5 separate regions of the Homo sapiens genome follow, and all the other regions are linked to region 2. Evidence: promoter capture Hi-C in 16 types of primary human blood cells and fetal thymus (Javierre and others, 2016). All regions are on one chromosome and are shown on one strand. Each heading gives the region's core, a stretch centred on a gene start or on the middle of the fragment in contact. The rest is flanking DNA. Distances are from core to core; before and after follow the strand shown. Region 1 has its middle 34 kb from the start of LINC01738. Region 2 holds the start of FOXD2-AS1 (FOXD2 adjacent opposite strand RNA 1). Region 3 has its middle 3.0 kb from the start of PDZK1IP1. Region 4 has its middle 3.2 kb from the start of LINC01738. Region 5 overlaps STIL (STIL centriolar assembly protein).

Region 1 (2,795 bases), core at 124-2,623, 220 kb before region 2:
CAGCTGGAGGAGCTCCAGCAGGGCTCCAAGTGAGGGATACTGAGGCAGCAGGGCCAGGGCAGGCTGGATGGAGAAAGGGGACAGATATGAGCGGCTGGAAAGGGGGACTCAGGCATCTGGAAGCTGACTTCATGTGGGGTTGATGAAGAAAAAGCTGTCCTTAAAGAGTCCTCTGGTTTTCCCCAGAGGCTGGTTATGGGCCATTTTTTGGACTCAAATAACAGCATATTTTAAAAGATAAGATTAATCTCAGTTATACATATATATAAAGCAAGATTTTTTAAATGAGCAAGACTGAAATAAATATGTGGAATAGGCACAAACTGATGTTTTCTCTAGTTTCGTCTGTGTTTCATGATTGCTTCCTAAGTCTCTGGTTTTCTCCCAGCCCTAAGCACCCTCACCCTGCTGCCTCAAGGCATTCGTTCACTAAGATTCTGCCTTGAAACACTGTCCTCCCACTCTCTCTCAATAGCTCCTTCCAGCATGCAGCAGCCTTCTTGTGCAATGAAAATGATGTTGATATAATGCTGGATTTTGCTAAACGTCTTTAGCCAAAGTTACTATCATCATAGATAATATGTTAGAAACCCAAACCTTCCAACCCAGTTCTCTCCGCACTCCATACATGAAGCTCTATTCATTACAATAACAATAGCAACAGCTACCACTTCTGTCTGTGCCTGCTCTGTAACAGGTGCTGCTCTGAGCACTTCACATCTACCAACTCATTTTATTCTCACAAAAATCCTCATGGGGTGGATGCCACCATAATTCTCACTGACAGATGGTAAACTGAGGCACAGCCTTTGGCTAATGAATGGCCAAACCAAGATTCAAACCCAGGATGTGTCTTTGGGGTTCAGGTTGTACACCCCCACTCTTGGCTGCTTGTCATTTGGGACCCAGTTCTTCCCTTCACACAACCCCATGGATAGGCTTCATTGGTGGGGTTAATCACTCATAAGACTTTGATGCAGAGAAAGAGGTTAATGGGCGGGCTTTCCATGCCTGCCATATTCCCCTGAATATATGCTTTAAAAGAAATGCCAGAGGAATTATTGGATGTGAGGTATTTTGTGGGAGCAGGTAAGTAGCCACTCTCTATGGCCTGTCCAGTTCCCTACACTCCATGGTGATCTGAAAGGACCAGCCACCAAAGCACGCTCTGCTTCCACAAGCCAATCTGAAAAATGGGCTTGCAAAGTGAAAATTAACATCTGTCCACAGACCCACAATAACAACATAAATTATAAAAGTCTCGGAGAGAAGCTTCAGAGACTTGCCTATTTAAGACAAGTAAGATCTTTCAAGAAAAGAGCCACAGGTCTTTCAGGGGCCACAGAGGGAACTTGTTTTTAACACAAGAGAGAAACATAATAACAGAGAAAGTGACAGATTGTCACGGGTCTCAGTGCTACTTCTGCCACTTCCTAGCTGTGTGGCCCAAAATAAAGTCTACTGTCCAAGCTTCAGCTGGTCCTCAGGTCAATGAGAATAGTCCTCACTTTGTGTCCATGATTTTGGTCCTTTTGTGCCTTGTCTCAACTTTTGCATGAGTTGAACCTCTACTTATTCCTCAAAGCCTCGTGGAAGTGCCATCCCAGAAGCCCCAGGTGGAATGAGCCCCCCTCCCACTGGGTGCATGGAACACTCACTTCTGTCTTTCACTGGGGCTTACATATCTTGCTATTGTATTTTATATAATTGTTTAATCATTTAGGAAAGTGTTCGTTTGTTCGATGTGATCTGAGCACCTGCTCCAAGCCAAGGGTTGTGCCAGATGTTGGGAATATAATCATGAATGAGAGATTGTGATGGGCTGAACTGTGTGCCTCAAAAAGACAAGTTGAAGTCCTAACCCCAAGTACCTCAAAATGTGACCTTGTTTAGAAATAGAGTCATTGCAGATATAATTAGTAACATTAAATGAGGCCATAGTGGAGTAGGGTGGTGTCAGTATAAGAAGAGATACAAACGCACAGAGGCAGAGGTGCTGCCAAAATCCAAGGAATGCCTGGGGCCACCAGAAGCTGAAAGAGGCTTCTCCCCGAGAAGCTTGAGAGGGAGCACGGCCCTGCCGACATGTTAATCTCAGACGTCTAGACTCCAGAACTGTGACAGAATAAATTTCTGTTGTTTTAAGCCACCCAATTTGTGGTATTTTGTTATGGCATTTCTAGGAAACAAATACAGAAATGTTCGCCACTTTCAAGGAGCAATACATTAAACCAATAATTACAAAATAGTACGGGATGTGCTCTGTACAATCACAGAGGACATAACAAGTAACTCAGCCTTGGAAGAGGATCCAAAAAGACCTCCAGAGGGCGGGGCGCAGTGGCTCACCTGGTAATCCCAGCACTGGGAGGCCAAGGTGGGCAGACCATGAGGTCAGAAGATCAAGACCAGCCTGGCCAACATAGTGAAATCCCATCTCTACTAAAAATACAAAAATTAGCTGGGCATAGTGTCACTTGCCTGTAATCCCAGCTACTCGGAGGCTGAGGCAGGAGAATCGCTTGAACCAGGGAGTTGGAGGTTGCAGTGAGCAGAGATTGGGCCACAGAACTCCAGCCTGGCGAAAGAGTGAGACTGTCTCAAAAAAAAAAAAAAAAAAAAAAAAAGCCTCCAGAGCAGGCGCACAGTTGAAGCCGGGTTTTGAAGGATGAGTAGGAGTTCCCTGGAGGAAGGTAGTGGGAGAAAGCACTGTAGGCAGAAGGAACAGCAGCACTCCCTGTGCATCCCGTTGGTCTCTCCTGCTGGACTGTGCTCCCTGGTTCCCTTAGTGCAAG
Region 2 (2,700 bases), core at 71-2,570:
GTCCTCAAACCATGGACAGCAAATTGGACAGGGACTAGTAGCCCTGGAATTGGAATTTCCTGGGTGACAGACTGTCCGGGGAAAAAGGTCTTGGAGAGAAGCTTCTTGCATGAGTCCAAGGAAACTCACATACCTAGGGTTGCTAGATTTAGCAGATTTATTTTATCTGGCAACCCTACACATACCTCAAGCTTGCTCTTGACTACATGGATATCTGTCTCACACTCCCAGAACCCCACTCACAGATACCCCACACCATGGACCACACACCAACTCCAACCCAGCTCAACTCTGCTAGTATCTAAACAAGTGGAGAGAAAAACAGTGTTGGCGTCATCCTACTCCATTTCACCTTCTGAATGTCCTCATTTCTTTTTTTTCTTTTCTTTTTTTTTTTTTTTTTTTTTTTTGACTGAGTTTCGCTCTTGTTGCCCCCCTGCTGGAGTAAAATGGCCTGATCTCAGCAGCTCACCACAACCTCAGCCTCCCAGGTTCAAATGATTCTCCTGCCTCAGCCTCCCAAATAGCTGGGATTACAGGCAGGCACCAACATGCCCGGCTAATTTTGTGTTTTTAGTAGAGAGGAGGTTTCTCCATGTTGGTCAGGCTGGTCTCAAACTCCCTACCTCAGGTGATCCACCCGCCTCGGCCTCCCAAAGTGCTGGGACTACAGGCGTGAGCCACCCTGCCCGGCCTGAATGTCCTCGTTTCTAAAACAGCAAATGGGAACCAGTAGCTTCCTTCCTTGCCAGCACTCCCCTGGCTCCCCAGGCTTTGGTCAGGGTGAGACTAGCCAGGGCACTTGCTGCCCAAATTTCCTGCTTCAGAGAAGTTCTACCAAGCAGCTACAGCAGCCAGCCCTTGCCTCTGCCTGGCCTTGCTGCACGTTCACTGCTACTGAGACCTACACTGGGGAAGGGGAGTACAGAATCCCCAGCTTCTGCTCTGCAGGGTTGGGGAGGGAGAATCCAGACCCTTCACATACATACTTTTTACAGGAGCGGAAACTGAGGTCCAGGAGATCATGTTACTTGTCAGGCTTTTGAGGGGCGCTAAGCTGGGTTGGACCTACGTGTCCGGGTTCCTAGCCCAGAACCCCTCTGTTTATCCAAATAGCTGTTTCTCTAACCGAGCTCCTCTCTGTATAGAGGGATTTCTAGTAGCCTCTCCTCCCTTCCAAGGTTCTGGGCCAGTTTGTTTTCAACAGTGTCAGGAGTAAGTGCACTGGGGACTGGGAGAAGGGCCACCGCGGGATTCGGAATTTATTTCGTTTTCTTTGCTTCTTCTGTGACCCTTACTTCTTTCGCCTACCGGCTCAGCCTGTTCGGCGTCTTGCAGCAGTGCCTGCGATCCCGCGTGAGTCCGTCGCTCCCTCCGCGAAAACCTGGACTCTTTCCCAGAAGCCTTGGGCTCCAGCACCATGCCTGCTGCAGCCGCCAAAGAGCGGGAAGCCACAGGCTCTGCGGGTCTTGGTTACAGCGTCTCTGGTCGTGCCGGGCCTCCTTCTGCATCTGTTCCACGGCCCGGCCATCTCCCTCGTGCAGCCCAGAACAATTGGGAGGAAGCGTTGGCGGGCGGAGGGGGATGCCTGTTGGGCTTTTCCACTAGTTACTGAGTGTTTTTTGCGAAGAGTACGTTGCTATCAGTGGCGTCCGGGTCGTCTCTCCCTCTCTTCCTTTTGGTCCCCATAAATGAGCTGTTCTCGGCTCTGGGAAAGAAAAGCCCTCCAGCGATTATGCGGATCTAATTAAGTCAATCAGGAAACTGCCGGAGAGCGGCACTGGCTTGAAGCGGAGTTTGTCCTGAGGCACAGCGGAACGATTGCACGCGGCCCTTTTCAGCGGTTCGAGCTCGGCCAGCGCCGGGCTGCAAACGGAAGCCTGAGCTGGGCTTGGGGAACTACGCCCGCAGATTTCTCTAATTTTATTCACAAAACTGGACACCCTCAGGGAAAGCGGCAAAGCCGGCGCGAGCCTCCTTCCCACTCTGGACCTAGCTGCAGCTCCAAAGCGAGATAGCTGTCTAGCCTCAGCCGGTACAGCTCCCGGCCCCTTTCTCCACCCGGATCTTCGGCTGCTCAGAAGCGATCAGCTCCCTTAGCCCAGGTGGGAGGCGGGAGACTCCAGATCCTGTGACCCGCGGAGGCAGACCTCAGACATGTTCCCCATGCACAGAAATGACTGGGGCTCCAGTGTGTGCACCTTCAACTCTGAAGCCCACCTGCCCACTTCAGGCGCTGGCGCGGAGATAACCACCACGCGTCTGCCGGGCAAAGTTCGAGAGTGAATTTACATCTTCTCTTTCCGCTACTCCTGGCCACTGTCCCCTCCCAGCCCCATCTCCCCCGCCCCCAACCCTGGACTATGTGGTAGGGGACTCGCTTAAGCACCCAAGTACTGCGCGGTTGTTGAGACCAAGGCGAGCTGCGGAGCCTGTGGGCTGTTGTTCGTGGGAAGAGGGTTGCGACCTCAGGAGAGACCGAAAACAGCGCCACTTGAAACCCGCCGGTCCTGAAGATCACAGAGTTCCCGGAGTGGTAGGGAAGGCTCCACGCTCTTGAGAGCAGAGGCGGCCAGGGGCAGTGGGGGACGCTTCCAGGTATGTGGGAAGGAGAACTTCATGTCTAAGTGCGCTCTTGTGGGTTTCTCGGCCAGCTGGGCCGAGCCTCTCTTTCTCTGTCCTCATGTGTCTGTCCTCTGG
Region 3 (2,700 bases), core at 83-2,582, 240 kb after region 2:
CTGCTCTTTGTTAGGCCAGTGGTAGGCACTGCATATACTGACATTTAATTTCATAAAATGTGTGTCGAGTGTGTACTCAGGCACTGTGCTCAGTACTGGCTGCTGAGGGAGAGATAGACATGATACCTTCCCTCCATGGAGACAGTTATTAAATGAGTAAACATACAAATCAGTGTGTAATTGCAACTTGTGATCATGGCTGTGAGGAGATGAGCAAAGGAGACTCATAGAAGGGAGTGACTTCAGATGGGAGAGAAGGGAAGTAAAGAAGTATTCTTGAAGAAAGGGATGTAAAGGAAGATCAGTTTGCTGGGCAAATAGGAGTGGAAGAGTGTTCCAGGCAGAGAAAAGAGCAAGTGGAGAGAAGTCTCTGATGTGGGAAAGAGCTTGGCTTTTGTTAGGAAGTGACAGGAGGCTCCGGGGCCAGACCAAGCTGGAGTGGTGGGTAAGGAAGATTGCCTGTGCCCTCAAACCCATGCAAAGAAGTTTGCATATTATTTTAAGGGCTGATGAATGCCATAAAAGGGTTTAAGCAAGATACGTTTGAAAGAATAAAACAAGGTCTCCAGGAGCTCTCTGGCTTACAGCAATGATATTAACAAGATGAAGTATTATAAGAATTAGTAAAGAGCTGGGCGCGGTGGCTCACGCCTGTTATCCCAGCACTTTGGGAGGCCGAGGCGGGCTGATCACTTCAGGTCAGGAGTTTGAGGCCACCCTGGCCAACATAGTGAAACCTCGTCTCTACTGAAAATACAAAAATTAGCTTGGTGTGGTGGTGGGCGCCTGTGATCCCAGCTACTCAGGAGGCTGAGGCAAGAGAATCGCTTGAACCCAGGAGGCGGAGGTTGCAGTGAGCCAAGATTGAACCACTGCACTCCAGCCTGGGTGACAGAGAGAGACACTGAGAGGGAAAAAAAGAAAGCTTTTATATTTGTGTTCTAAACACCCTTCTTGAATGTTCTCTGTACTTTTTCTCAGGCTAAGCTCTTTGCCTGGATTCCTCTCCCCAGACTGTCTGCCGAGTACAACACTCTGGCTAACTTTGCCTGCATTACCTCCTCCAGGATGCCTTCCTTAGCAATGTAGTCCACCACGCTGCCCTATGTCAGAGCCCTGAGCACTCCCTGTATGCTGTTCCCAGACTATTTACATGTCAATGTCCACCGTCCCTTTCTTCAGACCACCCCTGGAGGAGGGCAAAAGTGGGGGCTGGAGGGAGGGGAAGTTGCAGAATCTTCAGCAGCAAACTGGCTCCCTGCACGCCCAGTCTGGTATTGGAGCTAGACACTGCCACCTGCTGGCAGTGAGTGGAATGGCTGACAAGATGGGGTTGGGAGGAAGGAGACTGCTGGAAACAGTCCAGGCCCACTTTGGCTTTTCTGAAGGGCAATCGCATAAGGTCTGGCTGGATGGAGGGCTTGTCTAAGGGGCCTGATGGTTTTGCGTGACAGCTGGGCTGGAACAGGAAGGAGGAACTGAACGTCGATGGAACAGCTGCTCAGGACACACGGTGCAGCCCTGTGGGGCTGCTGAGACCTTAGTCCAGACCCTGGGCCCCAGCCAGACCAGTAGGGGGGCCCACCTTGTTACCATGGGGATCAGGGCTGTGTCCATACAGCTGGGGAGATGACCCTCCACCCGTGTGAAGACCTCCAGGGAGGAGGGACCAGCCTCAAAGCCAAGTGTCCACCCATGCTCCCTCTTTTCTGGAACAACTTGTTTTGCTCTAAAGCTTGGGACTTTGACCCAGGAGGTATGTTTTCCTCCTGTTGATCACCTGGTGTCCTTCCTGTTCATCCCCTTCCCCCACCACTCCCAAAGCATAGCCCAGGGGATCCTTTCCTTTCCCTGGGTTTTTCAGGGAAGTGGAGGATACTGGGGTGGGGAAGGCAGAACCTGGGACTTGAGTGCTGAGGGCACTGGTTGGAGGGGGTGGCACAGCTGTGACCCCCCCACCCTCCTTAAGTCTGTCCTTGCTTGGCTCCTGGGATACCCCACTTTCCTGGGGTTGCTTCCTCCTGTTTCCTCCTGCCCCTTCTTCCTTTGAAAGACCTTTGTGTGTTGGGGGCGTGTCTCCTTCTTTCTGTGCTCTCCCCTCAACACCCCTACCCCCGCTACACACACTGGGGAGACCATGAGCTCCCAGGCCTCAGTTACCATCCCTGTGCTGCAGACGGCTCCCAGATGTTCCACTCCAGATGCAGGGATTTTGCAGCCTTCCAGATGTCTCCCTCTGGAAAGTCCACAGGCACTGCAAGCATAATACCTCAAAATCTATAGCTCATTAATCCTCCAACCCCCCAAACTTGCTCTGGCCCCTACTGAGGCACTAGCATCTACCCAGCTGCCTACGCCAGAAACCTGGGAGTCACCTGAAGCCCTGCCTCCTGCCTGTACCCATTCTCCCAGCTTGGCACTGTGTTCCAGCAGCCACACCCCGGCTTCTCTACCTCCTCAACAGGGCTCAGATCTGTTCCCATGGGCACTTCCTGCCCAGGTCCAGGCACTGGTGTTGTGGCCACTGTAGCAGATCCCTGGATTTCTCTTCTCCAGCCTTTGCATGCCCCTTTCACTCTCCACACTGCATGGAGAGGTGTTTTCCCAAACGCAAAACTAACCATGTGACTCTCCTCCCTAAAATTCTTGGAGAAGGCACCAGTAGATGTTTGTTAAATTCAGCCCCATTCCTTACATTCC
Region 4 (2,700 bases), core at 99-2,598, 250 kb before region 2:
TTGTATTTCCTCCCCAGGGTTAAAACTTCAGTTATGTGGGGGCAGAAAACAAAACAGTTGGATATAGTTAAGCAAGTACTTGAATTGAAAATGGCCAGTTATTTGAGAAACAACTTGTCCGCAATTCACCAAGAAACATTAATTTACCAGTCACTTTGCAAACATGAAGTTCCTTTGAAAACTACTGGTTTAAAACAATCTGATATCCCTCTCCTATTTTATGAAGATGGCTGGTTATTCTGCAAACTTCCACTTGGAGTTAGTCATGCTACTAGTTATTCTTTACAAACAACTTGGCACAAGCTTCAGCTCCTGGTTTGTCAGGTTAGAACTATGATTTGGTCCTTTTTCCCATTGCTGATCAAATTCAGATTTAGTTAACTTTTTCTAAAGCAAAGAGGAAGAAATATTTGGGGGCAATCAATAATGATCCTTCACTGATTTCCTGGAGCTATCCTAAAATCCTCAGATACTATTCAACCTAACAGCCTTATTTTACAAATGGGGAAACTGAGGCCTAGAATATGCTAGTCTTTGCTGATCCCTGCTGGTGACATCTGAGCCGGGTTTGAGTATTATTTGTGAGTACTTGGAACAGGTGATGCTAAGGAAACTTCAGGTGCTTTTTCTCTAAGCTCAGTCATGAGGTTTTTCACTTCTACCCAGGTCTGAGCCACACAAGTCTGAATTTGGAACATTTTAGATATTGTTGTAATAACCCTCTGGTAACACTGTGCATGTGTGTTTGTGTATGTGTGTGTTTGTCCACCAGGCATTTCAAAATCTCTGGCCCTTCTGAAAGACAGGCAAGTTTATTAATGCAGAGCTCTCCGAATTGTTTTATAATTGGAAACATTTTGCAATGAAAGAACATTAATAAAACCTGAATCCAAATCAAACTTCTCTGTGTATGTTATTTTTACTCCGCAGTCAAAAGCTTTTATTAGATTTAAAACTTTCACTGTGCTTATCTCTGGCTGTATAATGTTCTACAATAAGAAAAAAAGTCCAATGACTCTGAAGTCTGGCAAAATAATATACTTTCTTGGATGTCTCTGTGTGTTGCCAATTAGCTTTGCCGTGAACACAGGCCCCCATCCATCACCCGCCTCTGGGTGGCTGTAACAGAGACCTAATTTGTTTCACATGCCCTGCGCTCTCTGAGCCATTCACCAGCACCTCCAACCTGCTGAGGAGCAGCTTGGCTGGAGAAGAGATGAATGACAAGAAAAACCCAAGAGGAGACAGAGAGACCGCTTATCAGAAATGGGCCCTGCTCTGCTCACTCAGTGGGAAAATCCCAGCCCTTCATGCCTCTAATTCCTTCCACCCACCTCCCGCCCCACCCCTCTTTCTCTTTCTCCTTCTCTTCTTCTCCCCTTTCATGACCTAAAAGACCCAGGACTCACAGAAGGCGAGGCCTTGAGTGGAGAGTGGAAAACTTAGTCTTGTCTTCCAACTTCCAAGGGCTGGCTGCAGTCCTCTCCCTTCTCTGCCGGGTTCCCACTCCCTCCCACCTACTCCTTTTACAAGCCCAAGGTTTAAACCTCCAGTTCCCTAGGAATTTTATGAATGCTCAGCACAAGCCAAAATAAACTCGTAAAGAAAAAGTTTCTAAAGAAGGTCATAGACCCGTATAGCAAGTGCTAAGCGGTAAATACAAAAGTTCTTGGGGTCTTTGGGAGCTGTGGTCTGGGTGGTGGAAGGTTGGGGTCAATAGAGGGGAAAGGGAAGAACAAGGAGAAAAAGTGAAGCTTCCTTTTTCTCCTAGTTCTAGACCCTCAGAGTCTTTATTGTTATTATTTTGTAAAGCCTTATAGTTTGATGCCTCATTTTATTGATGCTGTAGCCCAGAGAGGTGGAGGGATTGATTCAGTGTCACACAGGAAGCTGGCCCGTGCGGTGCTCTGACACCCGTGTCTGCAGGCCTCACTCTCTGTGGTACTGACACGGTGAGGGGAGGAAAGGAAGGCGCCTTGGGATCACAGAGCTGCCTATTTTAACTCGTTAGAGCAGTGATGTCCAATAGAACTTTCTGCAATGGTAGAAATGTCTTCTGTCTGTGCTGCCCAATATAGTAGGCACTTGCCACATACAGCTATTAAATTAAGTAAAATGTAAAATTCAGTCCAACCAGCCACAATTCAAGGGCTACCATATTGAACAGCACAGATATAACACATTTCCATCTCTGTAGAGAGTTCTATTGGATAGTGCTGTTCTAAGGGCCACCATCACCAGCCCCAAGGACATGCTTGTGGTCATGGTGCAAGGTGGCCCCTTCCTCTAGGCTTTCACAGCCCTCAGTACTTTCACTACCCCCAATCATGACAGTTGCCACTCAATTATAAATGACAATGTCCTGTCTGTCTTGCCCACCTGAATGAGAGCACTTTGGGGGCTGGGGTCCTGTCTCTTTTCTCTTTTCACCTCCACGGCATCCAGCACAAGACAGATTCTCAATGATGATTTAGTCTCAGAATCTTAGAGTTGTAAAGGACCTTAAAGGGAGTCTAACAGAACTGCTCCCGGGGCAGGGACCTGCCCTGCAGCCTCTCAGAGGTAGCCCATCCACCCACTGTTTGCACACCTCTGGGGGCAGAGACCTCACTATCTCCCCAGGCAGCTGAGTCCATTTCTGAGCGGCTGGGATTATTAGAATAGACTTTCTCAAATCTAGCTGAAATCTCCCTACTTGCA
Region 5 (2,700 bases), core at 1-2,500, 180 kb after region 2:
TGTCTGTCACTCGATCGAACCAAAATAATTGTGACCCATTCAGCCTTCTCCATATTAATACAGACAGAAGCACAGTGGGGCTTAGTTTAATTTCACCAAACAACATGTCATTTGCAACCAAAAAATATATGAAGAGATATGGACTCCTACAAAGCAGTGACAATAGTGAAGATGAAGAGGAACCTCCCGACAATGCAGATAGCAAGAGTGAATATTTATTGAATCAGAACCTTAGGTCCATACCTGAACAGCTTGGTGGTCAGAAAGAGCCTTCTAAGAATGACCATGAAATAATTAATTGTTCTAACTGTGAATCTGTGGGGACCAACGCAGATACGCCAGTATTGAGAAATATTACAAATGAAGTTTTGCAGACAAAAGCAAAACAGCAGTTGACTGAAAAGCCAGCTTTCTTAGTAAAGAACCTTAAACCAAGTCCTGCAGTGAACCTTCGAACCGGGAAAGCAGAGTTCACTCAACATCCTGAGAAAGAAAATGAAGGGGACATTACAATTTTTCCTGAAAGTTTGCAACCTTCTGAAACGCTAAAGCAGATGAATAGCATGAATTCAGTAGGCACCTTCTTAGATGTAAAACGTCTCAGACAGTTACCAAAATTATTTTAACCTTTTAACTCCCTGCCCTTTTAATACAGGGACAGGGTGTCTCCTGAAGATACTTAGGGAAAACAGGAGCCTACCACAAGGCTCCTGATCATTCTGGAGTCACTGTTTCTTGGTAGCAGCCAATTGGGAAGAGTGACTTCTGTGAGATGGCTGGCTGGTGATAGGACTAAGTTCTCATTGTTCAAATAGAGCTGTTCAACATCACTGAAACCTTTAAGAAAAGCCCTGAGATCAGTTATTCCTACAAGTTTAAGTAGTAGACAGATACTATCCAGCTCTAAGTCTCAACTGCTCTTTTATACTGTACTTTTTTTTTTGAGACGGAGTTTTGCTCTTGTAGCCCAGGCTGGAGTGCAATGGCAGGATCTCAGATCACTGCAACCTCTGCCTCCTGGGTTCAAGCGATTTTCCTGCTTCATCTTCCCAGGTAGCTGGGATTACAGGCATGTGCCACAACGCCTGGCTAATTTTGTATTTTTAGTAGAGACTGGTTTCTCCATGTTGGTCAGGCTGGTCTCAAACTCCCGACCTCAGGTGATCCGCCCGCCTCGGCCTCCTAAAGTGCTGGGATTACAGGCGTGAGCCACTGCGCCCAGCTATACTGTATATTTTAAGAAGTTCCAGCATGTTGCATCTCTGCATTTATCCTATATCATTAAAAGAACATAAGTTATCATGGTGTTGGGTAAATTAGCGAAATCAACCCTTCCTAAGTTTAAGGGAAAAGTTATTTTTAAAAACAACTTAATAAAAACTTACACTCTTTTATACAAGAGTGTATTTCCCCTTAATTAGGATGCATGTTGATTAAACTCGAGATACAGCTTTTTGCAGTATGGTGGGTTGGTTTTGGTGTAACATCTTCAACATGTCACACTGGCTATCAAAGAATAAGAAAATTATTGAGTATGAGTGTGTTTTATAAACTTTCTGAGTTTTTCAGATGTCTTAATATTTTTTAATAGAACTTAATAAAATGTCTAGATTGACTATTTTCCTTTGTTGTCTGTTATAGTTTATTCTCCACTTTTTAAAAAACTCTTAGACTGCCCCCAAATTACAAAAATAATACAGAGAGTTCCCGTATACCCTTCTTCCAGTGTCCTCCAGTGATAATATCTTACATAAGCATAGTAAATGAGCAAAACCAAGCAATTGACATTGGCTATAATGCTAATAACTGAACCACAGACCTATCAGGTTTCACAAGTGTTTACATGCACTCATTTATTTACTTTTTGGTATATAGCTTTATGAAATTTTATCTTTTTTTTCTTCTTCGAGATGGAGTCTTGCTCTGTTGCCCAGGATGGAGTACAGTGGCGTGATCTTGGCTCACAGCATCTTCTATCTCCTGGGTTCAAGTGATTCTTGTGCCTCAGCCTCCCGAGTAGCTTGGATTACAGGCATACACCACCACGCCTGGCTAATTTTTATAGTTTCAGTAGAGATGGGGTTTCACCTTGTTGGCCAGGCTGGTCTCAAACTCCTGATCTCAAGTAATCTGCCCACTCTGCCTCCCAAAGTTCTGGGATTACAGGCATGGGCCACCGCTCCCAGCCATGAAATTTTATCTTTTGAGACGGAGTCTTGCTCTGTTGCCCAGGCTGGAGTGCAGTGGTGCGACCTTGGCTCACTGCAACCTCTGCTTCCCGGATTCTAGTGATTCTCCTGCCTCAGCCTCCCAAGTAGCTGGAACTACAGGTGCATGCCACCACACCTGGCTAATTTTTGTATTTTTAGTAGAGACAGAGTTTCACCATGTTGGCCAGTCTGGCCTCAAACTCCTGACCTCGTGATCTGCCCACCTCGGCCTCCCGAAGTGCTGGTTATAGGCGTGAGCCACTGCCTGGCTGAAATTTTATCTTTTATAGAATCACATAACTACTACCATAGTCAGCATACAGAACTATTCCATCACCACAAACTCCCTAGTGCTACCCTTTTAAAACACACGGTCTCTCCAACCCTAACCCCCAGCAGCCAGTGATTTGTTCTCCACCACTAGAATTTTGGCCTTTTGAGAATCTTTTATATAAATGGAATCATATAGTGTGTACCTTTTTGAAATTTG

The links. Contacts are between HindIII fragments. The CHiCAGO score rates a contact against its expected background, and 5 or more counts as called.
Region 1: a contact is called between a fragment that was not itself captured here and the fragment with the promoter of FOXD2-AS1 in region 2, in 1 of 17 cell types (total CD8 T cells). The highest score is 6.1, in total CD8 T cells.
Region 3: a contact is called between a fragment that was not itself captured here and the fragment with the promoter of FOXD2-AS1 in region 2, in 8 of 17 cell types (naive CD4 T cells, total CD8 T cells, naive B cells and 5 more). The highest score is 12.8, in naive CD4 T cells.
Region 4: a fragment that was not itself captured here is called in contact with the fragment with the promoter of FOXD2-AS1 in region 2 in 13 of 17 cell types (total CD8 T cells, naive CD4 T cells, naive CD8 T cells and 10 more); the score reaches 9.6 in total CD8 T cells.
Region 5: a fragment that was not itself captured here is called in contact with the fragment with the promoter of FOXD2-AS1 in region 2 in 2 of 17 cell types (total B cells and naive B cells); the score reaches 5.9 in total B cells.

Annotation. Positions count from the first base shown.
Region 1 is chr1:47,652,916-47,655,710 of GRCh38, reverse strand. No RefSeq gene overlaps it. Among named protein-coding and RNA genes, the nearest start is that of LINC01738, 34 kb to the left of the region's middle. The HindIII fragment of the contact is 198 bases long and covers 1,275-1,472 here.
Region 2 is chr1:47,433,261-47,435,960 of GRCh38, reverse strand. FOXD2-AS1 (FOXD2 adjacent opposite strand RNA 1) reads left to right here and starts at 1,320. Exons shown (of 1, transcript NR_026878.1): 1 at 1,320-2,700. All of the region lies in intron 1 of LINC01389 (long intergenic non-protein coding RNA 1389), which reads left to right. RefSeq lists an enhancer at 1,320-1,835. The HindIII fragment of the contact is 12,098 bases long and covers 194-2,700 here.
Region 3 is chr1:47,191,671-47,194,370 of GRCh38, reverse strand. No RefSeq gene overlaps it. Among named protein-coding and RNA genes, the nearest start is that of PDZK1IP1, 3.0 kb to the right of the region's middle. RefSeq lists an enhancer at 1,981-2,700. The HindIII fragment of the contact is 810 bases long and covers 928-1,737 here.
Region 4 is chr1:47,683,924-47,686,623 of GRCh38, reverse strand. No RefSeq gene overlaps it. Among named protein-coding and RNA genes, the nearest start is that of LINC01738, 3.2 kb to the left of the region's middle. The HindIII fragment of the contact is 817 bases long and covers 940-1,756 here.
Region 5 is chr1:47,249,062-47,251,761 of GRCh38, reverse strand. It overlaps STIL (STIL centriolar assembly protein), which reads left to right. Exons shown (of 17, transcript NM_001048166.1): 17 at 1-1,623. The coding sequence ends at 626. Among named protein-coding and RNA genes, the nearest start is that of TAL1, 18 kb to the right of the region's middle. The HindIII fragment of the contact is 4,333 bases long and covers 1-2,700 here.